Regions from separate parts of the Homo sapiens genome. Here regions 1 and 3 are each linked to region 2. The links are contacts of gene promoters, found by promoter capture Hi-C in blood cells and fetal thymus (Javierre and others, 2016). All regions are on one chromosome and are shown on one strand. Each heading gives the region's core, a stretch centred on a gene start or on the middle of the fragment in contact. The rest is flanking DNA. Distances are from core to core; before and after follow the strand shown. Region 1 overlaps NUFIP1 (nuclear FMR1 interacting protein 1). Region 2 holds the start of CCDC122 (coiled-coil domain containing 122). Region 3 overlaps GPALPP1 (GPALPP motifs containing 1).

Region 1 (2,862 bases), core at 257-2,756, 1.1 Mb after region 2:
TTGGAAGGGATTCAGAAGAGACTCAAAGATGATTAATAGGATGAAAAATAAAACCTCCAAAGAAAGATGAAAGGAACTATTTGCAACCTTTAAAAGAAGATGAGAAGCGACAATAAAAATAGTTTTACAGAGAGGATGGTCCAGTTGTTCTCAAACTGAAGAGAATATGCAGAAGTAGAAATGAGAAAAACAGTAATGATTTTTACAGGCCTCACAGTGGCGAGACATGTAACTCACAGCTACTCAACACCCTCCACAATTCTCAAATTTACTTATTACTTAAGTTTCTTCAACATTTTTGCAGAGTATTGCAGACTCTTACCATGTTGGGCTATATGTTACATGATAAAATTTGGCACTACAGTGTACTACGTACCAGAGAGCAGATGCTAGGTAACTGCTTTTCATTGGTAAAGAATTTAAACTTGTTATAGCAAGTGGATTTTAGGTAAGATATAAGAAAGAGTTCCCTAAGTGAAACATCAAAGATGTGATGTGTAGAAACTCCTTTGATGGAAGCCTTTTAAAACAGCTAATTTTCTCTTTCAGGCAGACTGCAGTATCATGTTCCTAAAGGTAAAGAAACTTAACTTCCTAAAATTAAATATCATGTTCCTAAAGGTAAGGAAACTTGTCTTCCTAAAATTAAGTATCATGTTCCTAAAAGTAAGATTAGAGTTTTAAAAAGTTGTAAGATTTTATTTTTCTTGGTGCTGAAATCAATAAAATCCTCTTCCAAAATTTATTACATTCTTATTTACACAGAATCCAGATATTTAAAACTAGAGAGAAAAATGGTTGCTAAAAAGCACATTATCGCAAAAAAGAAAAATCAGAAACACAAGACCTAATTACACACATAAACAACAGTAGGAAGCCCCACTCCACCAACATGAAGCTGAGATAAATGAATAACGAAAAAAAAGGAGTTCTGATGAAGGAGTTCAGGTTCCTAAAGTACAAGAAATAACAAATCCAAAGACTATTGAAAAAACATAAATTATGTCTTACATTGCAGTTACATACATGTAAAGCTTAGTCCAATATCTCCTGTTAGAGAATGGATAATATGAAGTTATAAAGACCGTGACAAGGGAAATTTTCACAGTTGGTTTTTCTATATTTTTATCTACTAAAATCATTTTCTCCCTGTACTTCTATCTTTCCTCAGTTCACTAAGAGGAAATGGTCCTGAAACTATGCTCTTTTCCTTCCTCTCTTCTTTCATTTTTTACCTCTTCTTCACCTTCCTCATTGCCTATACCTTATGCCTCCAGTGACAATCTTTAAGCACTACAGAGCCAACACATGGGCAAACCGTCCTAACCATTATCTTAGCACAGACCATTCTGGTCACATTATTCTCTCCAATTTTTTCCTTATGCTCAAATCACGACCCATTTATTGGCTTTTCCCCTCTGCCTGTTCTATAAAACATAGTTACTCTTCCCACTCTCATTAAACCACAACTGCTTCCACACAAGCTACACTATTGTACTTTTCTTTCTGAACATCAAAAAGATACAGCATTCTTTAGAGCAGATCTCCTGTGTTGGAATTCTGCATGAACCAGGGAAACAAAAGGATTTCCTCAGAGCCACAGTAAGCGTTGAAATAAATTGTAAAACTACTCCACCTAGTGGACTCCCAGTCTGCTGTGAAAAATGTTCCACTGTTTCTATAATAAAAGCAAGGTTTTGGAAACAAACCTCTACCACTCATTTTCCCTAAAGCCAAATCATACAGCATTGGTACTACATAGGACAGGAATTAAGAAAGAATAACTTTTTTTGGTGGCTTTTTTGGGGAGGTAGGGGAAAGGCTATTAATGGAAAGCCTTAAAAGTTATTAAATTAAATACACTCGGTACCCCTGAGTCTGACTAACCTGAAAAATACAGAGATGTAGAAGTAAGGACAAAGATGTACTTTTGTCAAAGATAAGGAAGCCATATGCCAAGCAAACCTTCAGTTTTCTTTAAGCTTTAAAATTCTTACTCTGTGAAATCTTTCACAAGCTTTTCCTAACAGAGCAACTACATAAAGACCTTATTTTTCCTGCATGTCAAAGAATATAGTGGCTTCATCGGAAAGAATGTAGCTCTCACACAAAGATCAAATTCATGAAATAAGGACTATTCTGCCACACCAATGTGGAACTTACTCTTTTTAGGAGTTCAAGTAATATTTTTTAAAAATTGAGAATGACAGGAATGTAGAAAGTAAGTATATTTTTGTAACAGGGTTTTTTTGTTTGTTGTTTTTTTATTGAGACAGTCTCACTCTGTTGCCCAGGCTGGAGTACAGTGGCACGACCTTGGCTCACTGCAGTCTCTGCCTTCTGGGTTCAAGCAATTCTCCTGCCTCAGCCTCCCAAGTATCTGGGATTACAGGTGCGTGCCACGATGCCCAGCTAATTTTTTTTATTTTTAGTAGAGATAGGGTTTCGCCATGTTGGCCAGGCTGGTCTCAAACTCCTGACCCCAAGTGATCTGCCTGCCTTGGCCTCCCAAAGGGCTGGGATTACAGGTGTGAGCCACCACGCCCGGCCCATAATAGGTTTTTAAAAAATTGCTAGTGGGGATAGTATTTATGCATTTTTGAGAAATCTATCAAACATACCAAAAGAAAAGCAGTATTTCCCATATCCTCTAATAAAATATACATACAGAAAAAATATATATGAACTCTTCAGAATATATTAAAGAGCAAGAACCTGAGAAACAAACTATGGAAGAACCTCAGATGAACTCACCCAGTGCCCAAAGAATTTTCAGAGCACTTACTAAACAAAGCAACATCACAGGTATAAATAAACTTCATCCAAAATTGCCATCTTCACCCCATTTCCTCATTCTCTTTA
Region 2 (3,268 bases), core at 75-2,574:
GAAGGGTGGGTTTCCATTCTGGGTTAGTGCTCCCAGTCTCTAGTCAAGCACAAGAACATGCCTACCCCAGAGGGCTCTTCCAAATTCCCAGCTATCTGAGATTATGAGACAAAGGTTCTTTAGCGCCTACCAAATGAGCAACAATGAAGATAAAAGGGACCTCTCCTTCCATCATAACCAGTTCCCCAGGAAGCACCATTTCTCTTACTCTTGGAAGGTCGGATATTTTTTCCCTTTACCATACACTGGCCTTCCATGTCCTAACTGCTATTTTCAAATAAATGAACGTTATATTCTTGGAGGACAGATCAGGGATGCTAAACTGCACCTTTATCATGATTTTAGGGATGAGCGCCTTTTACTTAAGTCCTGCTAGTGGCACATATTTTAAAAGGCCATAGAGGACATCCGTGTTGTCAACACAAGTGAAGGCGCTCGGAAGAGTGTTGGTCAGCAAGAATCAGCACAAAGACATTGGAGGAGAGACAACAGCTTGTTTCTGGAAACAAATGAACAACAAAAAAACACTAAAACATCTCGAGGGGGCCCCTGACTTGAGCCCTGCATGGGAAAAGCTGCCAAGAGCTAGCATGACAAGGGACTGGCCCTGGGCTGCGGTGAGGAAACCCAGCGTCCTGACCACACTGCTGGGTCAGCGAGGCGTCCCTCAGAGACCGGAAACGCGGACTTCAGCTCGCTTGGGAAACGGCTTCCATTAGCAGAAGGGAGACTGCGGTTTAGTCCCGAGGTCGCTCCAGCAGCCCGGCCTCACGCGACCCACCATTCCCGCCGCCCCCTCACGGTGCCCGCCGTTCCCGCCGCCCGGCTTTCTAACCGGGCCCCTAGTTCCCCGCCCCGTGCCCTCTGGAGACCTGCAGCTCCTGCCGCCCTGCGCCCGCTCCCAGGGCCCGTCGTTCCGCCGCCCTATCCCTCCTCAAGGGGCCCCTAGCTGCCTCCTCGCGACCCTTTCCGGACTCGGCCTGCCCACTCCTGCCCGCTAACCCGCCTGGCTCCCGGGCGAGAGCCCTCGCGCGGCTCTGGTTCCTGTTCCTCTAACGCCGCCGGGGCTGCGGGATGCCGACTCCGCGGACCGCCCAGACCCGGAACTGCTGAGGCAGCAGCGGGCTCGCGGCGCTTGGCTCATCCCGGGATTCCCCAGCTCTCGCGCTGGGCCCGCCGCGTTCGCACCAAGCACGCCAGGCGGCCCTGGCCTACCTCCCTCCCGCCTCCCGGCAGCTGGCACGAGGGAACCTGGCCGTCAGGTTTCCCCTGGGATCCTGGGACGGTATCAGGCGGGGAATCTGTGCGGCCGCGGCGAGGTAGGTGAGGTGAGGCGGGGCGAGGTGGGCGAGGGGGGCGAGGTGAGGCGGGGCGAGGCGGGGCGAGGCGAGGCGGGGCGAGGTGGGCGAGGTGGGCGAGGTGAGGCGGGGCGGGTGTCGTCGCGCTGGGCCGAGCTTACGACTCCAGCTGACCCGCTCGCGGCTGCCCAATTTCGTTGAGGCTCAGGACGAGGGACGGGGCGGCAAATTGTCACAGAGGTCGCCGTAGACCGGTGTGCAACCGAAGGTGAAGAGCGGGAAGGCGAGGACCGAATCGCCTCTGGTGTGCGTTGTCCGACAGGAAGTCCCGAATGGGCTGTGAGCCGCCGGTGGAGGTGCCCGGGCAGGTGCAGAGCCACAGCCTGCGCCCCGTGAGCCGAGGCGGGTAGGAGGAACAGGGACCTGGCGGCGACACACGTTGGGCGGAAATTCACAATGAACAGGGAAGGGGGGACGGTCACCCACTCAAAACTGGCTAAATGAACCTCAGAGGGAGCCCCGAGAGATGGGGAGCAAAGGTTAGGGGAAGCGGCAGGAGAAAACCTTCTTGGGGCAAAGGGCGTCACCAAAGGGGGTCACCGGAGCCCCGCAGGTTGGGGTGGGAGGGCTGGGCTGGAGGTGAGCAAAGCTGCACGGGGAGAATGAATTAAGAAAGTTGAGAGGAAGCCTGTCTCATCCAAATCACTATAGCTTTTGTGGTCATTGCTAAGTGTGGAGTACTGCGCAAATCCTGAAGGGAACTCTATTAGCCATCTCAGCTTTTATCATCTTAAAACGCGAATTTCGCGTGCAGCTCCATTTAGCTTCGTAAACTTAAGCCCCCGCATATGAAAGGATGAGACCTAATATGACAATCATGTCAGGACTAATGATATATCACACAGGTTGACACTCTGCAATTTAAAAACAGGACTTTGTCTAAACTCCACAAGTAATTCCTTACTCAAAAGTTCTGTGTAAACAAAACAGAGGAACTGTCGTGCTGCTGGAAAGATGTACCAGCATTTTCACAAAACGAATTAAAAGATGGCTTTGCTTTCACTGTCATGGTTCTGTTGTGACAGAGTAGACTGGCTTTTCTGGGAGGGGCCTAGATTTACTATTTTAGTTACATTTTAAAATCAGTGTAATTACTTCGTTTTTAATCTACCACAAATTTCTGTTGTAACTATAAGATTTATATAATCTTATATTCTTACACTAATTTTTATTTGCAGGTGATTTATTTGGCATAAAAGTATTCTTTCAAGGATGGCAGAAGCTGTTTTGATTGATCTTTTTGGTTTGAAATTGAACTCTCAAAAAAACTGCCATCAGACATTACTGAAGACTTTGAATGCTGTCCAATACCACCATGCTGCCAAGGCCAAGTTTCTCTGTATAATGTGTTGCAGTAACATCAGCTATGAAAGGGATGGAGAACAAGATAATTGTGAAATAGAAACAAGCAATGGATTATCAGCTCTCTTGGAAGAATTTGAGATTGTTAGCTGTCCCAGCATGGCTGCCACTTTGTATACCATTAAACAGAAAATTGATGAAAAAAATCTGAGCAGCATTAAGGTAATTGTACCCAGGCACAGGAAGACATTAATGAAAGCTTTTATTGATCAACTCTTCACTGATGTTTACAATTTTGAATTTGAAGATTTGCAAGTGACTTTTAGGGGAGGGCTTTTTAAACAGTCCATTGAAATAAACGTAATCACAGCTCAAGAACTAAGAGGAATTCAGAATGAAATAGAAACATTTTTGAGAAGTCTGCCAGCACTGAGAGGAAAATTAACTATTATCACTTCTTCTTTGATCCCAGGTATATTAACCACTAACTGTTGTTTTTACTTTGTACATGGAAAACTAGTCTTTCTTCAGAGGTAGTTCACCTCTTTTTTTCCTCCTTTCTTTTGTTGACTGTTGTGGGCTGATTACTCATTAGCATCAGTGGCAAC
Region 3 (3,162 bases), core at 471-2,970, 1.1 Mb after region 2:
TTTTCATATGCTTATTGGCTTGTGCATCTAGGTTTAAGAAACTTGGGTCAGGCATGGTTGTTTACGCTTGTAATCCCAGCACTTTGGGAAGCTGAGGCAGGCATTCTTGAACCCATGAGTTCAAGACCAGCCTGGGCAACATGGCAAAACCCCATCTCTACAAAAAATACAGGTAGTGCATGCCTGTAGTCCCAGCTACTTGGGAGGCTGAGGTGGGAGGATCGCATGAGCCCAGGAGTTGGAGGTTGTAGTAAGCTATGATCATGCCACTGCACTCCAGCCTGGGTGATAAAGTGAGACCCTGTCTCAAAAAAAAAAAAAAAAAAAAAGGGAGAGAGAAAGAAAGAAACTTGAATTTAGAGTCTAATTTCTTAAAAAAATGCCCTCTCGCGGCCGGGCACGGTGGCTCACGCCTGTAATCCCAGCACTTTGGGAGGCCGAGGCGGGCGGATCACCTGAGGTCAGGAATTCGAGACCAGCCTCAACGTGGAGAAACCCCGTCTCTACTAAAAAAATACAAAAATTACCCAGGTGTGGTGGTGCATGCCTGTAATCCCAGCTACTCGGGAGGCTGAGGCAGGAGAATTGAATTACCTGGTCTTCTCTGTTCCTGCTGCCTACCATGTCCCATCCTACCTTGAAGTCTTCATACATGTTGTTCCCTCAGTTTGAGTGCTTCCTCCCATCCCTTAGTTTCGTTCGTTTTGCTAGTTTTCAGAGCTCAGTACAAAACTTCATCTTGGGATTCAGGTGTTATGGGCCTCCTCACGTGATAAACATAAAGTCACACAGTTTTCCAAAATACATGGTTTTCATAATAAAAGTATTCTTGAAATTATTTATTCGTGGTTTTTTGTTGTTGTTGTTGATTTAGGGTCATTGTTCAGAATATCACATTATATATATCGTTAGATAATTAGAAATGTGAGGCATTGGAGAGAGAGCATTTTATTTTTTTTTTGAGACGGAGTTTCGCTCTTGTTGCCCAGGCTGGAGTGCAATGGCACAATCTCGGCTCACCACAACCTCCGCCTCCTGGGTTCAAGCTATTCTCCTGCCTCAGCCTCCTAAGTAGCTGGGATACAGGCGTGCACCACCACACCTAACTAATTTTGTATTTTTAGTAGAGAGAGGGTTTCTCCATGTTGGTCAGGCTGGTCTTGAACTCCCGACCTCAGGTGATCCTCTCGCTTTGGCCTCCCAAAGTGCTGGGATTACAGGCGTGAGCCACTGCACCCAGACACAAGCCCCTATCTTTAAACACACACACACACACACACACACACACACACACCCCTTCTCTTTTGGTTTCTATGATACCATACTCCCCTCATTTTTGTCTCCTCTTTGGGCAGCTCCTCTTCATCTCGAATAGTTTATCTTCAATTAAACCTTCAGGTGTTAAAGATTCTGAAAGCTGACTCCTAAGCCCTCTTTTTTTTTAATACTCTATTCTCTCTTTTAAGTGATGATATTCCCACCCATGGGGTGAAGGTTTTTATATAAGAACTTAGATGCTTATCTAACATCTTTGTTTAATGATTCCCAGTGAGAGTTCCTATCAGAATCTTTAAAAAAGGAGATGAACTTCTAAAAAAAATCTTTCAATGTTCTAGCCAGTCTCTTCTTTCCTCCCCTGACAGGATTTTAAAGTATTCCAAGTTCAGGAGCAAAGACTAAATTACCCCCTAAGTCCCTGGGACTGTCCCAGTTTTAGCACTAAAAATCCCACATCCCAAGAAGCCCTTCAATCCCAAGCAAACCAGCACAATTGGTCACCCTATTTCTGTCTTCTGTAGCAGTGCACCTTAAACTTGAACATGCACATGGATTACCCAGAGATCTTGTTAAGATGCCAACTCTGATTCAGGTGATCTGGGTGAGGCCTGAGATTCTGCATTTCTGACAAGCTCCCAGCTGCTGCTGCTGCTGCTGGTCCTGCTGGTGCCAAGACCACAGTGTTTGTGGTGAGGGATGGGAGCACACGTGGCTTTCTCTATCTGTAGTTATTGTGCTGGATTGTTTGCTGGTTTGCCCCACTAAACCATGAGGAAAGGAACCACGTCCTAAGCCTCTGTAATCCCCAATACTAGCAGGGTACCCAGCACAAAGTGGGTACTCAGTAGATTCCTTTTGGCGGAGTAGAGGACAGTAAAAATTCCTGGTCAGGCGCAGTGGCTCATGCCTATAATCCCAGCACTTTGGGAGGCTAAGGTGGGAGGATCACTTGAGCCCAGGACTTCAAGAACAGCCTAGGCAACATAGTAAGACCTCATCTCTACTAAAAATTTAAAAATTAGCCAGGCATGGTAGCATGCACATGCAGTCTCAACTACTTGGGGGGCTGAGGCAAGAGGATTGCTTGAGCCCAGGAGTTTGAGGTTGCAGTGAGCTGTGATCACACCACCGCACTCCAGCCTGAGTGTTAAAACAAGACCTTGTCGCAAAAAAAAAAAAAAATTCCTTAAGAGGGGCCCAGGATTTATGGGGGTTGGAGAAGCCAGGACCTGCATGAATACAGCTAACCATAATCCTTTGTATGGAGTCTGGAAGAAACCTAATGGCTGGCTGGGAACGGGATTTTTTTTTTTTTTTAAACAGCATCTCACTGTCATCCTGGCTGGAGTGCAGTGGCATGATCTCAGCTTACTGCAACCTCTGCCTCCTGGTTCAAGTGATTCTCCTGCCTCAGCCTCCTGACTAGCTGAAATTACGGGGATGCACCCTCACATCTGGCTAATTTTTGTATTTTTAGTAGAGATGGGGTTTCACCATGTTGGCCAGACTGGTCTGGAACTCCTGGGCTCAAGTGATCCATCTGCCTCAGCCTCCCAAAGTACTGGGATTACAGGCGTGAGCCACTGTGCCCAGCCTCTTTTTTTTTTTTTTTTTTTTTTTTTCCAGTTTTTAAAAATTGTGATAAAATACACATAACATGAAATGTACCATCTTAACCATCTTTAAATGTACAGTTCAGTGGCATTAAATACATTCAGATGATTGAGCAACTATTACCAACATATCCACATCTCTTTTCATCTTGTAAAACAGAAACTCTGTACTCACTAAGTAATAACTCCTCATTCCCCCCTCCAGCTCCTGACAAGCACCATTCTACTTTCTGTCTCTATGATTTGACTACTTTAAGTACATCATTTGAGT

Evidence for each region. Contacts are between HindIII fragments. The CHiCAGO score rates a contact against its expected background, and 5 or more counts as called.
Region 1: a fragment that was not itself captured here is called in contact with the fragment with the promoter of CCDC122 in region 2 in 2 of 17 cell types (monocytes and total B cells); the score reaches 5.5 in monocytes.
Region 3: a contact is called between a fragment that was not itself captured here and the fragment with the promoter of CCDC122 in region 2, in 1 of 17 cell types (monocytes). The highest score is 6.8, in monocytes.

What each region holds. Positions count from the first base shown.
Region 1 is chr13:44,968,426-44,971,287 of GRCh38, forward strand. All of the region lies in intron 5 of NUFIP1 (nuclear FMR1 interacting protein 1), which reads right to left. Among named protein-coding and RNA genes, the nearest start is that of NUFIP1, 20 kb to the right of the region's middle. The HindIII fragment of the contact is 948 bases long and covers 1,033-1,980 here.
Region 2 is chr13:43,878,416-43,881,683 of GRCh38, forward strand. CCDC122 (coiled-coil domain containing 122) reads right to left here and starts at 1,325. Exons shown (of 7, transcript NM_144974.5): 1 at 1,216-1,325. LACC1 (laccase domain containing 1) reads left to right here and starts at 1,489. Exons shown (of 7, transcript NM_153218.4): 1 at 1,489-1,704; 2 at 2,537-3,132. The coding sequence starts at 2,571. RefSeq lists a silencer at 1,227-1,376. The HindIII fragment of the contact is 5,095 bases long and covers 1-2,917 here.
Region 3 is chr13:44,993,910-44,997,071 of GRCh38, forward strand. The region is part of intron 1 of GPALPP1 (GPALPP motifs containing 1); the gene reads left to right. Among named protein-coding and RNA genes, the nearest start is that of GPALPP1, 6.0 kb to the left of the region's middle. The HindIII fragment of the contact is 5,076 bases long and covers 1-3,162 here.